Linked DNA regions of Homo sapiens: region 2 is linked to region 1. The links are contacts of gene promoters, found by promoter capture Hi-C in blood cells and fetal thymus (Javierre and others, 2016). All regions are on one chromosome and are shown on one strand. Each heading gives the region's core, a stretch centred on a gene start or on the middle of the fragment in contact. The rest is flanking DNA. Distances are from core to core; before and after follow the strand shown. Region 1 holds the start of SYT8 (synaptotagmin 8). Region 2 overlaps IFITM10 (interferon induced transmembrane protein 10).

Region 1 (3,457 bases), core at 1-2,500:
GTGCACTTTTGTCTCATGTCTGTGTCCGGCCTGGGTGGAGACGCTGACCCGGGCATAGGGGTCCACGGTGCCCCCAGGCCTCAGGTCGGCTGCCTGCCTCAGGCCCACCCTGATCTGGGAGCCAGCGGGGTGGGCTCAGCCAAGGGCCCCTGCCCTGTCAGCTCCCCACCACCCAGGGCATGGGGTCTGCCCTTCCCCCGTCACCCTTTCCGGAAACTCGCAGAACCGCTGGTCCTGCGCAGCGGGGCCCTTCACCTCCTGGCTTCCAAAGTCGAACTCCAGGGAGAGCTGCAGGCACCCCCATTGCTGAGCATCCCCCGGGCTGGACTCCAGGCCATCCACATCAGGTTGCACCTGGAGTGAGTTGGGACAAGGGGCAGGTGGTGCTGACATCATGCCTCATCAGAGCCCTGGGCTCCCGGGCAGCCCTTGCATGACATGGGTCAAGACCCCCCGCCTCCAGGCCAGGCCACCCAACAGGCACAAATCGTCGGCTTCGCTCTGTGAGACCGGCCAAACCCACCCAAAACGTGGCATCTGGGGTACCCCCTGCCTTCCTCAAGAACCCGCTGTGGCTCCCTCGGGCCCATGGGGCAGCCCCTGTTGCATGGCCTCCTTCTCACCTCTGTTCACCCACTTTCCCTGCCAGGAAGGTCCTCAACGCCCTGCCTCTGTGGGGGTTAAACCATCCCTGGGGCTGAACTCGCCTCGCTGCCCTGGGCTCTGGAGCCTGGATTTCAAGCCCTCTCTGGACTGAGTGAGCAAGGAGCCGCTCCTCACCAGGTGGGTGGTGGTGGTGCCGCGGGCACTGCCCAGACCCACGGACTCCTTGTCCCTGGGCTTCTTCCTGTGGCGGCGGCAGCAGCAGCAGGCAGCACAGAGGAGGCAGGAGACGAGGAGGACGCCCGCGGCAAGGGCGCCGGCAATGAGAGCCCAGCGGGGCCCTGGGGTAGAGGCCAGGCTGAGTGCATCTGTGGACAGCTGCAGCCCCCACTTGGCTGGGTTATCCCCACACCCCTCTTGGGAATCCCACAACTCACAGGGGGTCCCGGCGACAAGGTCTGGAATAAGCCCAGGTATAGCTGTGGTGCCAGCTGGGGCCGGGGCACTGGGAGAGACTGGTGGGTGCCCCATCTTTCTACCCTGCTGGTTTGGAAGAAGCGGCCCAGGAGGCTGGGTCAGCTGGGAGGGTGGCCCCTCCGGCCCCTGCCCGCTACCCCATCTGACTAGCAGCAGCCAGTGCTGGGTCTGCCAGGGCAAGGAGGCAGCACGGGGTGGCCAGGGGCGAGGGTTCTGTGCAGCAGGAAGCTGAAGGGAGGGAGGCTCTGGACCCTGGCCAAAGCTCCAGCTTAGCTGCCCAGGCCCAGCCTCCCAGCCACCTCCCAGCAGCCCCCAGCCCCAGCCAAGCAGGCAGGGCCTGGGCAGCCTAGTCCCTGCCTTCACCGGACCTCAGAGCACCCTTGCCCCCACTGTAGGATGCGTCCTCCACCAGGAAGCTCTCTCCCTCCCTGCTTCTCTCTCCTGGGCCCTGGACCCTGGGCCCTGCCTGGGGGTCCCATCTCATCCCTGGGGGTCTCATCTCTGCGGTCCCATCACTTCCTTGCCTCTACCCCAGCACGCACCACAGCTGGGGCCCACCATGGTTTGCCAGCCATGCAGGTGGAGCATGTTCACTGCAGCCCCCAGGAACTTGGAAGCCCAGAGGGGTCTGCAGGGTCATGGCGGGAGGAGCAGGGCTGGCTGTCGGCGGAGCTCACTGAGCAGGCCTGGGCTAAAGGTGCATTCCTGGCAGGGGCTCAGGGCCGCAGCGCCTGAGGATGAAGGTGAGGTGGTGGCAGGTAGGGGCAGGGTGCAGCTGGGAGCGGCCAGAACATTCCACACACACTGACTCAGCCGCTGCCTGGACTCGTCCACCTGCCTGCCTGGCCACCCTTCGGCATGTGGGTGGGAAGGAAGGTGGGGCGGGCGCAGCTGCTGGCCCCTGTACCCGCCTGCCTAGGGCCTGGGGAGGGAGCACACCTGGCTGGGCTGGCTCCTGTCACCTACAGGCAGGGGAACCAGGGTGCTACATGGGGCCTACGGTGACCCCAGGCCCAGGGTGACTCCCCAGCTCAGCTCTTCCCTGACTCCACCCGCTCCAGAGAGCAGCAGCCAGCCAGGAGACTCTGTTCCTCCACATTGGCGCCTCCCCTGCTTTGCCCACAAGAGCCTGGGACCCCTCTTGCCATGTCCAAGTCAGCCTGGCCTCAGGGGCCCAGCCCAGGCCATCCCATCGGGAATAAGCAGCTGTTGAGGCCAGATACCCTCACCTCTGCAGCCCCCCAGTCTGGGGCAGAGCAAGGAGACAGACAGAAAGGGACCCTGCCATGACTCCAGACACACACACACACACACACACACACACACACACACACACACACACACGCACGCGCACACAGCATCAATGCCCCACTCCCTGGCAGGCTGGGAGAGGCAGCTGCACTCCCAGAACGGACCCAAACCCCCAGTGTTCAGATGAGGGGGCTGCAGCTCAAGGAGGGGAGGGAGGGTCCAGGTTCCAGCCCCACACGCATGTTGACCCTGTGAGGTCAGCAGGCCAGGTGTTTTACAGACGAGTGGACCGAGGCTGGGAGCTCTAGTTTTGTGGCTCTGGAGGCCAGCATGGCCTGGGAAGCCCAGCCTGTCCCCAGAACACAGGGGCCAGCACAATGGAGGGATTATAGGTACAAAAAGGAGATGCGGAGGTCAGGGCCAGCTTTCCAGGCTGCACCCTGTGCGCAGGGCCCCATGCTCAGAGGGGTCCCTGCTTGGTTTAATGCGTGCTGGGGCCATCTTGAAATTCTTAATTTTGGAACAAGATGCTGCACATTTTCATTCTGCACTGGGCCTCACAAATGACGGAGCTTGTCGAGTTCGGGGGACCCTTTGGGTGAGTCCCCTGCAGATGCAGTGTGGGTGTGCAGTGAAGCTCACGGGCCTCGGCAGCCCCTCAGCTCCTGGGGGACACTCCCAGGTGGGTCCGGCGTCCCACACGTGGCTGGCGGAGCGCTCCTACTGGTGGTGGCTGATGGAATGGGCTGGGTCCGCAGGGTCCCTGGAGCGGGACTGTGCCGGCCAGATTCAAACAGGCCACTGCCTCCTCCCTACGTGGAGTTTCAAGGCAACTTCTCTTTTTGAAATGTCAGAGCCTGTATACATGCTGAGATTAAAGTAGCTTCACTCCAGATTTTTATGGTTGAGATTCCGGATAAGTTGCCAATACAGAATCTCCATCTGTGAGTGCGGGCATGTGTGCGTGTGCGTGTGCGTGCGCCCCTCCCCTGTGCCCCCGCTTTGCTGGCGTCCCCCCTCCTTTAGTCTAAGAACAGTCAGGGCCGGGCGGGGAGAGCTCCCCTGCAGTGATTTGCCGCGGCCGGCCAGCGGCACTCCCGGGCCAGCCTGGTGACCTTGTCCCCAG
Region 2 (4,309 bases), core at 831-3,330, 100 kb after region 1:
GTCTTCCTCTCTTTCCATTCTCCTTCCCTTCCTCATCCTAGAACTTGGTTTCTTCTTACAGCAAACACGCACATATTTGTGGATGTGATAGAAGGAAAGAGTGCTGAGGAGGGGAGGGCCCTATAATTCATTCTGAATGAAGGTTGCCTCTTGGAAATGAGTCCAGCTCAGTCCACTGCCTCCCCAAGACTTCCTGAGTGCCAGCCCACTCCTTTCGCCTTAATATTCCTCCCCAAAGGCCCTGTGGACTGCTGTCTCTCCTGCCAATGCACAACGCTCATCCTCAAGGCATCCCAGTTAATTTTAAACGAGGCAGAACCAATCAAATTAGGAGACAGTTGTGTCGCCCCATCCTCCAATTATATCCTCTCTGAGGCCAACTTCTTTTATTTTAATCATTTAAAACTTGCAAAAAGAAAAAACAAGGAATTTCTTTATATCCTTCACCCAGTTGCCCCAATTTTTTAACATTTTACCATATTTGCTTTTCTCTATATATATAAATACATCTCACCTACTTTATAAACCAGTTGAGGGCTGAGAGGTTTCAGACATGACGCCCCCGTGCCCCAAGTTCATCCGTGTACAGTGCCCCAGGGCAGAGACATGTTCCTCTAGAACCATCGTTCATTCGTCAGCTCTCGGAAACAAAGCACTGGTACTGTGCTGAGCACTGTGGCACCGGCTCTGCTGGGCTCCTGGATGCTCCAAGGCCCTGCTCCCTGGCTGACTGCCCATTTCCTGTCCTCCTCCCGGCTTCAGGTGCGAGACAAGAAGCTTCTCAATGACCTGAATGGAGCCGTGGAGGATGCAAAGACGGCCCGGCTGTTCAACATCACCAGTTCTGCCCTGGCAGCCTCCTGCATCATCCTCGTCTTCATCTTCCTGCGGTACCCCCTCACCGACTACTAAGGCCCGCCAGGCACGGCTGCTGGCGGAGACAAGCACTGAGACATGTTTATTCTCATGGTCCCTGAAACGCAGGATCCCATGAGGTTGGGGCAGGGCAGGGCTTCTTGTCCTGGGGCCCCCTTGAGCTGTGAACTGGGCAGCAAGGCCATCAGAAGCTGAGTACAGCAAGGGGGCAGTGAGCTTGGCCCTCAGTCCACCCCCTCCGCCTCCTGGCCTCCACCCTGCCTGTGTCTGGGGCCTGGGGGCTTCTCCCCTCGCTGCTGCACCCTGGCTTCCAGCGTCTGTGTCCCTGCCCTCACGTGCCCCTTCCCAGGCTCCTGGGGCCCCTTGGACCTGACACCTAGCAGGAAGGGCTTATGCAAAATTGTCCCAGGTTGGGAGGACTCACTCTGTGCTCCCCGACCCTGCCTCCTCCACGATGTGACCCCGCTCAGAGCCCTTGTGTCTGTGAACTTTCAATGAAATACCCATGCAGCTCCAGCCCAGCCTTCTACTTTGTGTCCCTGGCAGGGCCTGGAGAAGTCTGGAGGCTTTGCAATCCTCCCTCAGGAACTGCCTGGCGGTCAGGGCCCCGGGTGCTGTGTCCCAACAGACTGCAGGGGACGGTCTGCTCCATCACAGCTGTGCCAGACAGTGAATGGGAAGGGGGGGCATTTGGTGGAGGTACCCCAAACTCGAGTCACTTAGAGGGTCAGGCAGCCTCCTGGGGGGACGGAAGGGGGTGGGGCACAGCCTCAGCTGCCTGCATTGGCCAAATCAGAGCAAAGGAAACCACAAATTCACTCGGAAGGAAGCAGCAGGCAGAGACGATAGACGCCTGGCTAACCCCTGTCCCTCCTGGAGGGCTCTGGGACCTGGACAGGCCCCTTTACCTCTCTCGTGCCCATCTCCTTAGCTGTAAAATAGGAAAATGGCCTTTCACTTCTATAATCACTGTGAAAATGAACGGAAGATGCCTTTCAAAGGCCGAGGCCAGCGCCCTGACGGCCCATGGCATGTGCAGTCCACAATGTGGGAGGCAGGATGCAGGGATGGGCTCTGTCCCCTTGGAACTCAGGCACAGTCATGGGGGTGCCGGTCAGCCCTGAAGACAAGCTGATGAGGGTGCACTAGGAAAAGTGCAGGGCATCGGCGAGGCACACGAAGGAGGTGGGGAGGTGAAGATGGAGAAGAAGCCGAGGCAGTGGCCATGGGTGTGGAGCTTCGCGCTGTGGGTGCCCAGCTGGTCTGGGAAACCGCAGGAAATCCCGCAGCTCAGGTGCGCAGTGGGAAGGACTTGCTATTCCGTGGGAAGGCAGGCAAACCTTCCCAGGGAAGGGGCATGGCCGTGCGCCTCATGTTTTGGGAAGCTCGTGCCCTCTGGGGTAGCGAGGCCAGCTTGGAGGGGAGTCCAGTGGACAGAGGTGGATGCAAGTGGAGGGAGCTGAGCCTGGGCTGGGGCTGGCAGCAGAGGGCTGGACAGCAGGGCGCCTGCGTGGCAGCTGTGCAGTCAGTGGGGTTGACTGGTTTGGAAGGTAAGGTGGGGGAGAAGCCCGGAGGATTCCTGTCCCTTGACTTGGACAGCCCAGTGGAGAGGGCTGTGTACCAAGGGCAGGAAACCAGGGAGAAGAAGATGTTGACTTTAAGATACCAAGCAGAGAAGGGAAGAGCCTTCTGGGCTGGAGACGTGGGGTGCCTCAGAAGGGAGGACCTTGAGCTAGCAGCAGATGGGACAAACGCAGGGGACAGGGCACAGCCGTGGCAGGAGTGCAGCGAGCAAGATTCTGGTCACAGTCCTGACCCAGAAACCTGCAGAGGAAGGGAGGGTGGCCAGCACCTGCCCGTGGGCCTGGGGTGCAGCCCAGGCAGAGGTGGATGGAGGGGGTGCTCAGGGAAGAGGGGAGGGGAGTGTGTGACCTCAAAATGGGAGGGCTTGGGGGTCAGAGTCGAGAGAGGGGACAGGGTGGGGACCATGTGGGACTCTTGAGCACTGACCCTTGAACCCAGGCAGTGGTGGGATGGGAGGGCAGGAGGCGGCGGGCTGCGAGGCTGATGCGGGGCTGCACGGAGCTGTCATTGAGCCTCTTGGAGGATGGTGGGAGAAGTGCCAGGGGCGGCTGAAAGCCTTGCCGAGACTGTGGGCAGCCTGGTTGTGGGCACTTCGGATGCTTGCACCATTAGACCCAGAGGCTTCCTGGACAAGCCTGGGCTGGAAGAGGATGGCAGAGGCTGCTGGGCCTTGGAAGAGAGAGGGTCCTGGCTTCTAGTTCCTGGGGCAGCTAAGGCCAACCCCAGTGTCCAGGTGTCTTCCATGTTATGCCTGGGAGGGAAGAAAGTAGAGGGGCAAATGCTTTCTTTGCCTATTTTCCTTAAACATTTGGTGGCAGTGCTGGTGGCTGCCTGGGACAGGGGCCAGGAGGAAACACCCCTGCATTAGGGAAGCCCTCAGCCAGCTTTTCCCTGGGATGTTCCTGCGCCTGGCTGAAGCTTTCTGAGTTCATGTTGGGGAAATGGAACGGTCACCTTCCAGCCAGTAAAGGCACCCCTAGCTCTTGGGATGTTTGTATCCAACTCCGGGCAATGTGGGGCTACAAAGGCCCCTGGCTTCCATACCCTGGGGACCGGGGGAGGGCTGGTGCTCCCGCGGTGGGTGTCCACGGTGAGGTCAGGCCCCCACAGCAGGTGCATTCTCGCCCTCAGCAGGCAGGCAAGCAGGCATCAGCTCCGGCGCTGGTCTCTGGCTTCGAAGTCTGTGTCTTTGCCTGTCTGTACTCATGCCTGACCTGCTGGCGCTCCCTGTCCACTGCACTCCTCCCACCTCATTTTTATGTGATTTTGCACAGTGCCTGGCAGACATTTGACATTCAATAAACATTGTACGAACGAAAGAATCAATCCCCCTCTCACTCTCTCTGTCCTTCTCCCTGTGTGCCTCCATATATTTGTGCATCTTTGGGGAGTCAGGTGACTTTCCCTACCCTCCCCTCTCCCCATGCTGCCCTGGTCACTGCCCTTGGGACCCCAGCCCAACAGGCCAGTTTAAAAGGATTGGGGCTTGGCTCAGTGGCTCATGCTTATAATCCCAGTGCTTTGGGAGACTGAGGCAGGAGGATTGCTTGTGCCCAGGAGCTCAAGGCTGCAGTGAGCCGTGATTGCACCACTGCACTCCAGCCTGGGTGACAGAGTGAGACCCTGTCTCAATAAATAAATAAATAAAGGATCAAGACTGAGGGGACTGTAAAGGCTGAGCCTCACTGTGCATCTGTGTGTGTGTGTGTGTGTGTGTGAGACTGTGTGCATATGTGTTCGTGTGTGTGTGTAGTGTGTGTGCCTGTGTGCTTTTGTCTGTGTATGTGGTGCATGTGTGTGTGACTGCTTCTGTGTGACTGTGTGCATGTATGTGTTGTGTGTGACTGCA

What was found. Contacts are between HindIII fragments. The CHiCAGO score rates a contact against its expected background, and 5 or more counts as called.
Region 2: a contact is called between a fragment that was not itself captured here and the fragment with the promoter of SYT8 in region 1, in 1 of 17 cell types (monocytes). The highest score is 7.2, in monocytes.

What each region holds. Positions count from the first base shown.
Region 1 is chr11:1,832,783-1,836,239 of GRCh38, reverse strand. SYT8 (synaptotagmin 8) reads right to left here and starts at 1,250. Exons shown (of 8, transcript NM_001394072.1): 1 at 1,041-1,250; 2 at 781-944; 3 at 256-354; 4 at 1-114. The coding sequence starts at 1,134. RefSeq lists enhancers at 2,060-2,673, 2,674-3,289 and a silencer at 3,392-3,451. The HindIII fragment of the contact is 25,919 bases long and covers 1-3,457 here.
Region 2 is chr11:1,731,883-1,736,191 of GRCh38, reverse strand. IFITM10 (interferon induced transmembrane protein 10) reads left to right here. Exons shown (of 3, transcript NM_001170820.4): 3 at 763-3,786. The coding sequence ends at 912. Among named protein-coding and RNA genes, the nearest start is that of IFITM10, 17 kb to the left of the region's middle. The HindIII fragment of the contact is 2,601 bases long and covers 780-3,380 here.